4 separate regions of the Homo sapiens genome follow, and regions 2, 3 and 4 are each linked to region 1. Evidence: promoter capture Hi-C in 16 types of primary human blood cells and fetal thymus (Javierre and others, 2016). All regions are on one chromosome and are shown on one strand. Each heading gives the region's core, a stretch centred on a gene start or on the middle of the fragment in contact. The rest is flanking DNA. Distances are from core to core; before and after follow the strand shown.

What was found. The method cuts DNA at HindIII sites, captures the fragments that hold promoters and counts their contacts. A CHiCAGO score of 5 or more calls a contact.
Region 2: a contact is called between a fragment that was not itself captured here and the fragment with the promoter of LRRC52-AS1 in region 1, in 1 of 17 cell types (activated CD4 T cells). The highest score is 6.3, in activated CD4 T cells.
Region 3: a fragment that was not itself captured here is called in contact with the fragment with the promoter of LRRC52-AS1 in region 1 in 1 of 17 cell types (naive CD8 T cells); the score reaches 6.0 in naive CD8 T cells.
Region 4: a contact is called between a fragment that was not itself captured here and the fragment with the promoter of LRRC52-AS1 in region 1, in 9 of 17 cell types (total CD4 T cells, activated CD4 T cells, total CD8 T cells and 6 more). The highest score is 10.6, in total CD4 T cells.

The regions. Positions count from the first base shown.
Region 1 is chr1:165,580,654-165,583,579 of GRCh38, forward strand. It overlaps LRRC52-AS1 (LRRC52 antisense RNA 1), which reads right to left and starts at 1,502. Exons shown (of 7, transcript NR_026744.2): 1 at 702-1,502. It also overlaps the pseudogene RPS2P10. The HindIII fragment of the contact is 5,029 bases long and covers 1-2,926 here.
Region 2 is chr1:165,339,738-165,342,470 of GRCh38, forward strand. All of the region lies in intron 3 of LMX1A (LIM homeobox transcription factor 1 alpha), which reads right to left. Among named protein-coding and RNA genes, the nearest start is that of LMX1A, 16 kb to the right of the region's middle. The HindIII fragment of the contact is 773 bases long and covers 903-1,675 here.
Region 3 is chr1:165,428,118-165,431,065 of GRCh38, forward strand. RXRG (retinoid X receptor gamma) reads right to left here. Exons shown (of 10, transcript NM_006917.5): 2 at 602-849. Among named protein-coding and RNA genes, the nearest start is that of RXRG, 16 kb to the right of the region's middle. The HindIII fragment of the contact is 363 bases long and covers 1,467-1,829 here.
Region 4 is chr1:165,378,696-165,381,587 of GRCh38, forward strand. No RefSeq gene overlaps it. Among named protein-coding and RNA genes, the nearest start is that of LMX1A, 23 kb to the left of the region's middle. The HindIII fragment of the contact is 3,600 bases long and covers 1-2,892 here.

The sequences.
Region 1 (2,926 bases), core at 252-2,751:
TGGGCTTTGGAGTGAGGCAGACTCCAATGGAAAGCCCAGTTCTCCTTCTTCCTAGCAGAGACTTTAGGGAAATTACTTAAACCCACTGAACGTCAGGGTCCTCATCTGTAAAATCCTCATAGGATGGTTGGGAGGGTGATCAGGTAGGAACCATGGCTTTCTCTAAGCTGCCTTTTATTTGCTGACTTTTGAGAGGGGACGTCTTACTCAGGCACAGTCACATGTGCCTGTAGCCCTAGCTACTTTGGAGGCCAAGGCAGGAGGATAGTTTGAGTCCAGGAGTTCAAGACTGCAGTGTGCTGTAACTGTGCCTATGAATAGCCACTGCTTAGGCAACACAGTGAAACCCCATCTCTAAAAGAAAAAAAAAAAAAGACCAGACATCTTAGAAAGATTCTTCAAATCCTAACCCTAGTTAGACATTAGACATTGAATGCCTCTCCTAGACTTGACTAATGGAGAAAAAATGCCTTTAAGTGTTTCATCTGTTTCATCTTACTCATTCCTCAGAACATTCTGCTGACATCAACAGCCTCCAGGCCTTTGCACATGCATGTCTTTCTTTATGAAATACACACACACATGCACACATGTCTCTACACCCTGCTTATTCTATAAATCCATATTCATCCTTCAACTTCTTGCTCAAGTATCACTTCTATTTTAAAATTTCCCAGACACCACAGCCTGCCCCAACTCACCCATTCTCACTGCAGTGACGGCTCCCAGAACCTGAACAAACCACAAGTCTGATCTTGCCGCACTGTGATGACTGATCTTCTGGTTTCTCCCCAACAACCATGGGTTCCCCAAAAAGCAATACTTTGTAACCCTAGCACTTGCTATCATGCCTAATGTCTAGCAAGTACGCACAATTTGTTGCGTTAATATATTCCACATGTAGCTTCTTCTCCGAGAAAACACCAAATGGCGGATGACGCCGGCGCAGCCGGCATTGGGTTGCGGGGGGAGTCCCGGAGGCCCCGGGGCCCTGGGATGGGGAACCATGGTGGCTTCCGTGGAGGTTTCGGCAGTGGCATCCGAGGCCGGGGTCACTGCCGTGGACCAGGCTGGGGCCGAAGCCACGGAGCTCGCGGAGGCAAGGCCAAGGATAAGGAGTGGATGCCCGTCAGCAAGCTGGGCTGCCTGGTCAAGCACATGAAGATCACTTCCCTGGAGGAGATCTGTCTCTTCTCCCTGCCCATCACGGAATCTGAGATCATTGATTTTTTCCTGGGGGGCCTCTCTCGAGGCCTAGGTTTTGAAGATTATGCCGGTGCAGAAGCAGACCGGAGCCGGCCAGCGAACCAGGTTCAAGGCGTTTGTGGCCATTGCGGGCTACAACGGTCACGTCGGTCTGGGTGTTAAGTGCTCCAAGGAGGTGGCCACTGCCATCCACAGGGCCATCATCCTGGCCTAGCTCTCCATTGTCCCCATGCGCAGAGGTTACTAGGGGAACAAGATCGGCAAGCCCTACACCATCCGTTGCAAGGTGACGGGCTGCTGCGGCTCCGTGCTCGTGCGCCTCATCCGCGTGCCCAGAGGCACCGGTATCGTCTCGGCGCCTGTGCCCAAGAAGTTGCTCATGATGGCTGGTATCGATGACTGCTACACCTCAGCCAGGGGCTGCACTGCCACTCTGAGCAACTTCGCCAAGGCCACCTTTGATGCCATCTCTAAGACCTACAGCTACCTGACCCCTGACCTCTGGAGGACGGCTGTATTCACCAAGTGTCCCTATCAAGAATTCACTGACCACCTCGCCAAGACCCACACCAGAGTCTCCGTGCAGAGGACCCAGGCTCCAGCTGTAGCTACAACATAGGGTTTTTATACAAGAAAAAGAAAGTTAATTAAGCCTGTAAAATATACATACATATATGTGTGTGTATATATACATATTATATATGTATATATGTGTGTGTATATACATTATATATATGTATATATGTGTGTATATATACATATATACGTATATATGTGTGTATATATACATATATACGTATATATGTGTGTATATATACATATATACGTATATGTGTCTATATACATATATACGTATATGTGTGTGTATACATATATACGTATGTATGTGTGTATACATATATACGTATGTGTGTGTATACATATATACGTATGTATGTGTGTATACATCTATACGTATGTATGTGTGTGTATACATCTATACGTATGTATGTGTGTATACATATATACGTGTATACGTATACACATATGTATATGTGTATACATATACACATATATGTGTATGTATGTGTATACATATACACATATATGTGTATGTATGTGTATACATATACACATATATGTGTATGTATGTGTATACATATACACATATATGTGTATGTATGTGTATACATATACACATATATGTGTATGTATGTGTATACATATACACATATATGTGTATGTATGTGTATACATATACACATATATGTGTATGTATGTGTATACATATACACATATATGTGTATGTATGTGTATATGTATGTATATATACACATATACATACATGCATGTATATATGTATGTATATGTATACATATATACATACATTGTATATACGTATACATATACACACATATATGTATATACGTATACATATACACACATATATGTATATACGTATACATATACACACATACATACATATATACACATACATACATATATACACATACATACATACATATATGTATATGTGTATATATACATATATGTGTATATATTCCAACTGTAAAATATACATATATGTGTGTATATATATATTCCACCTGTAATATATATATACATTCCACCTGTAAAATATAAAATTATGACACTGATTTTTAAAGTGTTATATAACTTACTCATACTGTTGTTTTCAAAAGCCAGCTTAAGCCAGAGGGGGAAAAAAAATAATCACACT
Region 2 (2,733 bases), core at 39-2,538, 240 kb before region 1:
GGGAAGGAGTGGTTGGGAAGGAGCAAAGCAGGGGCAGAACCTGTGCCCCAGATGTGCCCCTCACCCTTCCCTAGGCTTCTCCTCTATCACATGGATGCCCCACTGTCCCTCCTGGATCTTCAACTTCCTTCCTTCCCTGGCTAAACTCACCTTAGCCATCAAGCAGGCTCAAAACTACCTCATCCCAAAGCATCTTCCCTTCATTCTATCTCTACCCCAAGTGGTATCTTTGCCCCCCATCTTTTTCTCACTACGCATCTTCTTGAAAGAGTGGCCACATCACTCCCCCTATTTCTTCAACTTCTTTTTACTATATAGCCTTTATATGGTATAAAATGCTGTCCTGTACCCTCTATGCCTCTAGCAAACCTAGTTTGTTTGGTTTTTTGAGACAGGGTCTTGCTCTGTTGCCCAGGTTGGAGTGCAATGGTGATGGTTCATTGCAGCCTCAAACTCCTGAGCAAAAGCCATCCTCCCACCTCAGCCTCCCGAGTACATGGGACCACAGACATGTGCCACCACACCTGGCTAATGTTTTTGTTTTTATTTTTTTAGAGATGGGGTCTCACTGCTGGTCTCAAACTCCTGGACTCAAATGATCCACCCACCTCAGCCTCCCAAAGTGCTGGGATTACAGGCATGAGCCACTGTACCTGGCCAAAACTACGCTTGGTAAGGGCAAACAGGAAGCCCTACTTCTTGAAATTCCCTACTACTGCCCTGCCTTCCAGAACTCCACTCACTCTGATGTTCTCCCCTGCCTCTGTGTCATCTCATTACAGAATCTCCCAAAGCTCTTTGAATTCTGGTGTTCCCCCACAGAGTCAACCTTGGCTCTCTTTTCATGTAGTACACCCTTGGGCATTCCCCTCTTCTGATATTTATATGACAATGTATCCCAAAGCTTTGTGTCCTGGCTAGTTTCCAGATCTTCTTTCACAACTGCCTCCTGGACATCTCCACCTGACTGTCCCACCAGTAACTTAGTATAGCATGTTCACAGTTATCTCATTATCTGCTTCTGCCTGTCTCCTGCTCACTTCTTAAATTCCCTCTATCAGGTACTGATGTAACAGTCCACCTTGTCCCTTCTGGATCATCTTCAAATCTTCTCTCTTTATCACCCCTTTCCTCAGTCAAAAGTCATGATGTTCAACTTATCCTACGTCAGGAATATTTTCTAGGTCATGTTTGTCCTCTTCATTCCCAACCTCTCACCTTAATTCATATCCTTATTATCTCTTGCCTAGACTATAGCAACAACTATCTAAGTGGTCTCTGCCAGTCTCTACCCACACTCCTACCAGTGCCCCAGTTTGCCACCAGAATTACCTTTCCAGAAAATAAATATGGCCACAATATTTCATGCTTAGAAATCCCTGCTGGCTGCCTACTAACCACAGTATGAAACTGAATGTTCTTTGTATGTTACACAACACTCATAGTGACTTGGCATGATTTTGCAGTCCACAACCAGCCATACCCTAAATGCTCTTGATGTTGTGGCACCACCATGTCCATGACCAGTGACCACAGTAACTAGCACACTTTCTTTTCCGGGCTCCATCCATTTGCACATGTTTCTTCTTCCACTTGGAATTCTCCCATCATCTCCTCTTTTCCTACACTCCCACTCATCCTGCAAGAGCCAGTTAACATGTCACCTTTTCCATGAAGCTTTTTAAACAACCCCAAGCAAGTCACGTAATTAATTTATCTATTCAACTAACATGCATTCACTAAATACTATGCAAGATTATGGAGATGTAGGGATTATAAAACAAAACCAAAACAAGAAGTGTCTTCCTTCATAGAGCTTATGGTCTAGTGACATAGACAGACAATAAACCAAATATATATATATATATATATATTTCAAATTGTAATAAGTGCCTTGAAGATGATGAATAGCACATAGTAATACAGAACCAAGGAATTTAGATAACCTGGTTTTCTATCCCTGTGGCCATGCCTTTCTTAAAATAATGTTATTCTTTTTTCAAAGCATCTGCTTAATTTACATGTCTAAACAGTTTCTGCTAGACCTTTAGTACATGAGTGATTTGTTTTATTCATTTTTACATACCTGACACATACAGGAATTTAATACGAATGTTTGATGATTAAATGAATGAATGAGTGATTTAATTAATGAACCAACTGTTTATAAGAGTCTGTTTAACTCTAAATTAGAAAATTCCACATGCAACTAGGTAAAGTACATTCCAGTTGCTCATGTGTTACCTGAAATCTCTAGTTTCATTAAATACCAGTTTACAAACATTAAATTCAGACACATATTTCATCTCTCCAAAATGGACTAGAACTAGTTTTAAGAGAATAAAATTTCAGCAATGGTGAGAGAAATAATACAATACAGGAATACTCAGTTTCCTTAAAAACTGGGATTCCATTATCACTTTTTGATCCAGCTAGGCCAAGTAAAAAACAAGAGGGATGTCAACAGTTCTGGAAATCAGCCTCCACTGGGGGCACAGTGGGATCTTTTCTAGCTAAGGCTGAGACTTGTTTGAAAATACAACACAGTTCAGAAGAAAACTTGGAAAGGGGTTATGCAAGGAATGGATGGACAGCTGCTGGCTGGTCCCGATGGAAGTTATGCTGGAAGCTCCGGATATGATATTCAACAGTTCTGCTGCCAAATGTGCAGACAAGCTCCCAGGACAAAAGTCACCAATAGCAAACCCTGGGAGCTGGAGAGAAAGAAAATGG
Region 3 (2,948 bases), core at 398-2,897, 150 kb before region 1:
CAGAGTAGCAATCTAGCATGCACCATGCACATACTTCTTCTCCTCCATCATAGCAGAAGGCACTCGAAATTAAGGGAAAGTTTCCTTCCCAACCTCCCATAGTCTCAGAGACAGCATAGCATGTAATGCAGTCTGCCTTGTTCTCAACTTATCCATTGACATACCTGCCTATTTCTCCTCTCATTTGTAAGCTCCTGGAAAGCAATGGCCATTTCCTGATCATTTCTGCATTGCCTTTAACAAGAGCACGTGGCACTTCAGTGACTCAATAAATGCTCATGATTGAATTGAGAAGAATAAAAGGGGTCCATTCTGCTGAGAGATGTTGAAATCACAGCCAGGGCTGAACTGCTAAAACTACAAGGAAGGCCCCCTTTTGGTCACAGTCTCCTGGACCATGAGGAGTTGTCAGTTCTTCAGGACTGCTCAGCCTGAGGACACATGCAATGAAGGCCCTGCCTGAGGGACGTCTGCAGAGACCATTCAAACCCTTTGGCAAGCACGCATTATGGACCTGCTGAGTGCTGGTTCTGCTCCAGGAGCAGCCTGGGTGAAACCATGTAAGATGGCTGGAAAGGCCTTGGAGAGGAAGAACACTTACCTGAGAGCTGGGTGGGGCAACCAAGTTGATTCCTGGAGGCGCTGCAAGTGCTCCTGAGGGTGGGCCCATGGCAGAGGTGATGACTCGATATGGAGAGCCCAGGGCATTGAGGGGGGTCCCCACTGCACTCAGAGTCCGTGGGGCACTCACTGGGGTATCTGTGTAGCTGGGGTGGCTGTCCATTGGCTTCCCTGTGGACAAGGCTGCTGATGGGCTCATGGATGTAGAGCCAGTGTGGCCAGGGGAGCCTGTAAGAAGAAGAATATAGATGGTGGGAGGTTGGGGAACATGGAAAGGGGCCCTGGGGGACAGAGGCCTAGCCCCACCTTTCTTTCCTGTATCCTGCCCCTCTTTTAGCCACACCTACACACCTGTAAGCCCTAGGTGCTCTCACCTACACTACCCTGGTGGTATAAAGACAAGCGAGGGACACAGAGGGGAGAGGGCCTGCTCTAGGACAGAAATAAGCATGGATGTTCTCTGGGGCCCAGCTTGGAATCCACTCTGGACTATGCTGGATCCACAGCCAGTGCAACAAGGGGCACAGTCCAGAAGACCCCAGCCTGAGTGACTGAGGCCTGGGCCAGCCAGCCAGGGAAGGTGAGTCTATACCAAACCTCGATGGGGAGAGTGAGTAGGTTCCCAGGCTGCTCCATAATTCCCTGACTAGAACTCATATTGCTCTGATAATCAGGGCAGGGCTGAGATTCATTCATTTATATGCAACAAACATTTATTAGGGTGCCAGGTGCTGGGGATTCAGAGCAGAAGAGCACACAGTCGCTGACATCAGGAGTCACATTCCATAATAATGATGGGGAAGGCAGTGGCTGTTGTCATACCCCCAGTTTCCTATATCTATTGAAGCTTTATGTACATGATGTTCTTTTCCTGTCCCTCTCTATAGTACAGGGTTAATTAGCACTCAGGGGAGAAGACTTGGAATGGCTAGGCATGGCTTTATGGCCACAGAGGCCCAGGTAGCACAGGAAGGCAAATGCAGACCAGACTGCCGAGACCATTTCTGCCTCCAAGAATAGAATGCTGCAGCCAAAAGTGTCTGTGGAACAGGGTCTGGGTGAGGAGGTCATCAGTATCACTTTCTTCCAATAAATTGAACCCACATTCCCCTGTAGTCAGTAGCAAACTCGAGATGAAACAGGAGAGTGCCCTCCTGTCATCTTGGGAGCCCCGCATGGAACATTCTCTCCAGAAGAGAGGAGCTATAAGCTTTAGGATCTGTAGCAGCAAAGCAGAGACTAGAAAACACCACAGGGCACCCCACCGTGGATCCCATCACTAGATCCCTGTGCAGCTAGCATGCAAGAACAGATGTGAAGAAGCCATGTGCACAGTAGCTGCACGCAGCACATCCATGGCACCCAAGCTGTCCACATGGATAGAAAGGGAGAGGATTAAGTGCTCAGTAAGCACAGTCTGCTGGAGAAGCTACCCCATTCTCAGATGCCTACTGTGGGTCAGACACCTTGCCAAGCAGATGGGATAAGAAGTGGAGGAAGTCATATGCCTGACTTTATGTGGCTCATTATTCATCCAACAAATATTTCTTGAGTGCCTACTACATGCAAGGCACTGTCCTAAGCCTTTGGGCAACATCAGTGGGTGCTAAGTGTAATGTCAGGAGTAGGATGCTAGGAGAAACTGGCTTCTTTCAAGTTCTGGTAGAGAGCAGGAAGTGTCAGAAATATAACTGTGAAACTATTCTTAAACGTAAATATTCCACTGGAAAAAATGTCAACCTGCAGTTTCTCTTGGAGCTTCTGCTAGCTTAGTTGAGGGCTACTTGTGGAAGGAAGTCACTCCAAGGAAGCTGTGACCCTCTTGTCATTCTACGTATGGAGCTTTGGTCTATCAGGGACAATTGCCTCATAAACAGATAAGTCCCAATACCCCATGTCCTAAGTACCACAATCAAGGAGAAAACACATGCTGTGGGCCCACAGGGGCATGGCAAAGTGGTTAAAATTAATAACTCAAACATTTATTATGTGTCCTCAATAGCATCAGGCAGTTTCCATAACTCTTTATCCTGACAATAAGCCTATGAAAATCATTTCAGCCTTTTGCAGATGAGAAAACTTAGGCTCCATCTAACCCCATACCATTTCCAGTTCCAGGATGACTTACCCCTGCCTCCATTGTCTAGAAGCTCTTATTCAACCTTCAAGGTCTAACTCAAGTGCCACCTCCTCCACAAAGCTTTTCCTGGTGTTCCTGGTCTGGTTTCCTGCCCTTTTTTTATTTCCTAAAACTGTCTGTTCCTACTTGTATCTTAGCATTTGTTATACTGTATCACTATATTTGTTTATTCCCTGTCTTTCCCACT
Region 4 (2,892 bases), core at 294-2,793, 200 kb before region 1:
CCAAAGTGCTGGGATTACAGGTGTGAGCCACCAAGCCCGGCCTGCTTCCTTACTTCTACTTTTAGGTAATTTCTAAAATTTTTGACCAGGCATTAATTTCTATGATTAAAAGCAAACTGTTTTGTGTCATTTATTTTTTCTGATTAAAAAAGCAATGTTATTTTTTAAAGAAAAATTTGAAACTACAAAATACATTGATAAGAAAATAAAAAATTCACAATCCCAATATAGTGCATAAAATATCAACATTTTATTTGATTAGTACCTAAGCATTATCATATCTTTTTATAAAATTGGGCTCATGTCATACACAATATGTCATCACATTTCTACGTAACGTATTATAAATAATTTTCCATGGCTTTGAAGTGCTCTACAGCATCATTTTTCATGTCTTCACAATATTCAACATGAATGAACTATATCTGGTTTAATCAATTCTTGTACATACATCATTGTGCATGTCCCTAAAGTGGAAGAAAACTGTGGAGATTGAAAATAGGCTTTTGACTCATTCAGACCTGGATTCAAATCCTGTCTATACCACTTGCTGGATGTAACTTTAACCACATTTACTAAATTTTTCTAGATCTCATGTTTCTCACACACAGATAAGGCGATAATAATATCTTCCTTACTGAGTTATTGTGAGAACAAAATTGTATATATAAATTGTTTTGGTGCCTGGCACACAGCAATTGATAGCCTTGATTATTTTCTTAGAACACATTTCTAAAAGTAGAACTTTCGGGTGAAAGTGTATAACCATTTTGAAATTTCTTGAGGTACACTGCACTATAGAAAGAGTGTATAAATTTCACTGAAAAGAGGGAGTCAGGAAGAAGTTTTTTAAAAAATTAAACTTGTTTTGAGCCTTGTGTACCCAACGCAATAATGGGCTCATTCAGTAAAACAGACATGAAACAATACCCTCTCTAATCTATAATTGTTATAACCTGGCTCTTCCCCAGCCTTCTGTCCACCGGCTTTATTGCCCCCTGCTTCTAAAAGTGTCTTAGTTGAGTCTTCCCAGATTCTCCACAGCTTACTCCAGGGAAGCTCTCTTTAAGACTCTTCTCTACTGAAGACTTCCGGTGCTCCTTCACTTTGCACTGCTGGAGACTTCTGCAATCTCTGTAACATGCTCATGCTAAATCCTCCATCAGACTGCAAACTCCTGAAGTCCAGGGACCAAGGCTATGTTATGAAAATGAAATTGCTTTTGATTCTTTGGCTAACCACCCAAATCAGAACTGTTCAGGAAGATCTAAGATGTGGAAAAGTCGTACATACAGAATCTACCTTATAGGTGAGAAAATCTGGACTCTGGGAGGGAACATGCCCTTCCCAAGAGCACACACCAAGCAATGGAGCCTCGTTCCTGTCTCTCCACCTTACTGCTATCACCTCCAGCTGCCTCCCACCAGTTTCATGTTTTATTGCTCAATCTAAGCCCTGTGTTATCCGCTACACTATCTCAATTTGAAAAATCTTGCCCTTGACTCTTGCTTTTGTGCAGCCTACTGCCCTACTGTCAGTCCAGATCATTTCTGCATATGGACATCACACACACTCCCACCCACCACTCTTCCTTGAACTGGGGGAGGTAACAGAATCTGCGCCCACCCCGGCATTCCTGCACATCCTGAACATAAAAGCAGTTGTGAAACATGCAGAATCCTCCCCGATTTATTTCTTTTTACCTTACATCCCTTCCACTTTGATGTCAGTAGAATATTTGAAAGAAAAGAATCTAACGTGACCTACTACCCTGGAATGCCAAGAAAAACAATTACCAGGTCGATGGAGCTCAGGGAGCAGCTGGTGGACATGAATGAATGGGGCAAAAATAGTTTGTTTTCTAAACTCGTTCCACCTCAGGGTTGACCATCAGGTCTTTTGCTGGAGGCCGCCCAGAGCTCCCCACTTTCTGAACCTCAGTGACCCACAATCCATTCCTAAAAGGGAGAGCCTCCTGTCTTTCTCTCAGTTCCCTCAGGCTCTTAGCAGGACTCAATAAGAGCCCCAGAAATTTCCCAGAAGTAGGTGGATTTAAAAACACTTAAAATTGTAAGGGTGGGTGGTGGAGTCAGGTGGGAAGAAGCGAGTAGAGTTGGAAGGAGGATCTGCCCTCTTCTTAGGCCAGCTACAGAGTGATGCTAAATTGCTTAGGGGGGTAGTGAAGGTCACACGGAGCTCAGTTCTATCCTGCCCAGACCCCCAGAGCCTGTGATGACCAACATCTCCCCAGTTGTAGTGATTATCACAACTGGGCCCTTTTGTACAGCAGGATGGTGCTGTGGGGGATGAAGATCAATGTGGGCTTTGGAAAGGGCTATGTGGTGGTGCATAAGAATTTGATCCTTATTATGGCCAACAAGGCCAATCTTAATGTGGCCCTTCCTCCCCTCCCTGTCTTCCTCTTGCAGCAGTCAGTGGTCACTGATACTTTCTGCTCTACAAGCTACTTTCTGCCACAGGGCATTTACACTTGCTGTTACCCCTGTCTATATGGCATGCTGAACTTAGCACCACAAGTATGTACCAACGAACCTGCATAAAATATGATGGACCTATTACTGGTATTACCTGTCCTGCCTGTGGGCATTACTACACACACACACATACACACACACACACACACATACACATACACACACACACACCCTCACATCTCTGAGTGTATCTGCTATATCTTAGCATTACTAGTCCCTTCTCTTCATTCACATCTCTGATTGGCTGACTCCTCCTCAGAAAAGTCTTTCCTGGCTACTCTCTAAAATAGCAATCTCCCTCCCCCAGTCTATGCATCCTCTCTCTCCTTACCTTGAATCATTTTCTTTATCATGTAGTCTGCCTAAAGTAGAATTACTTACTTATGAGTTTGTTTTC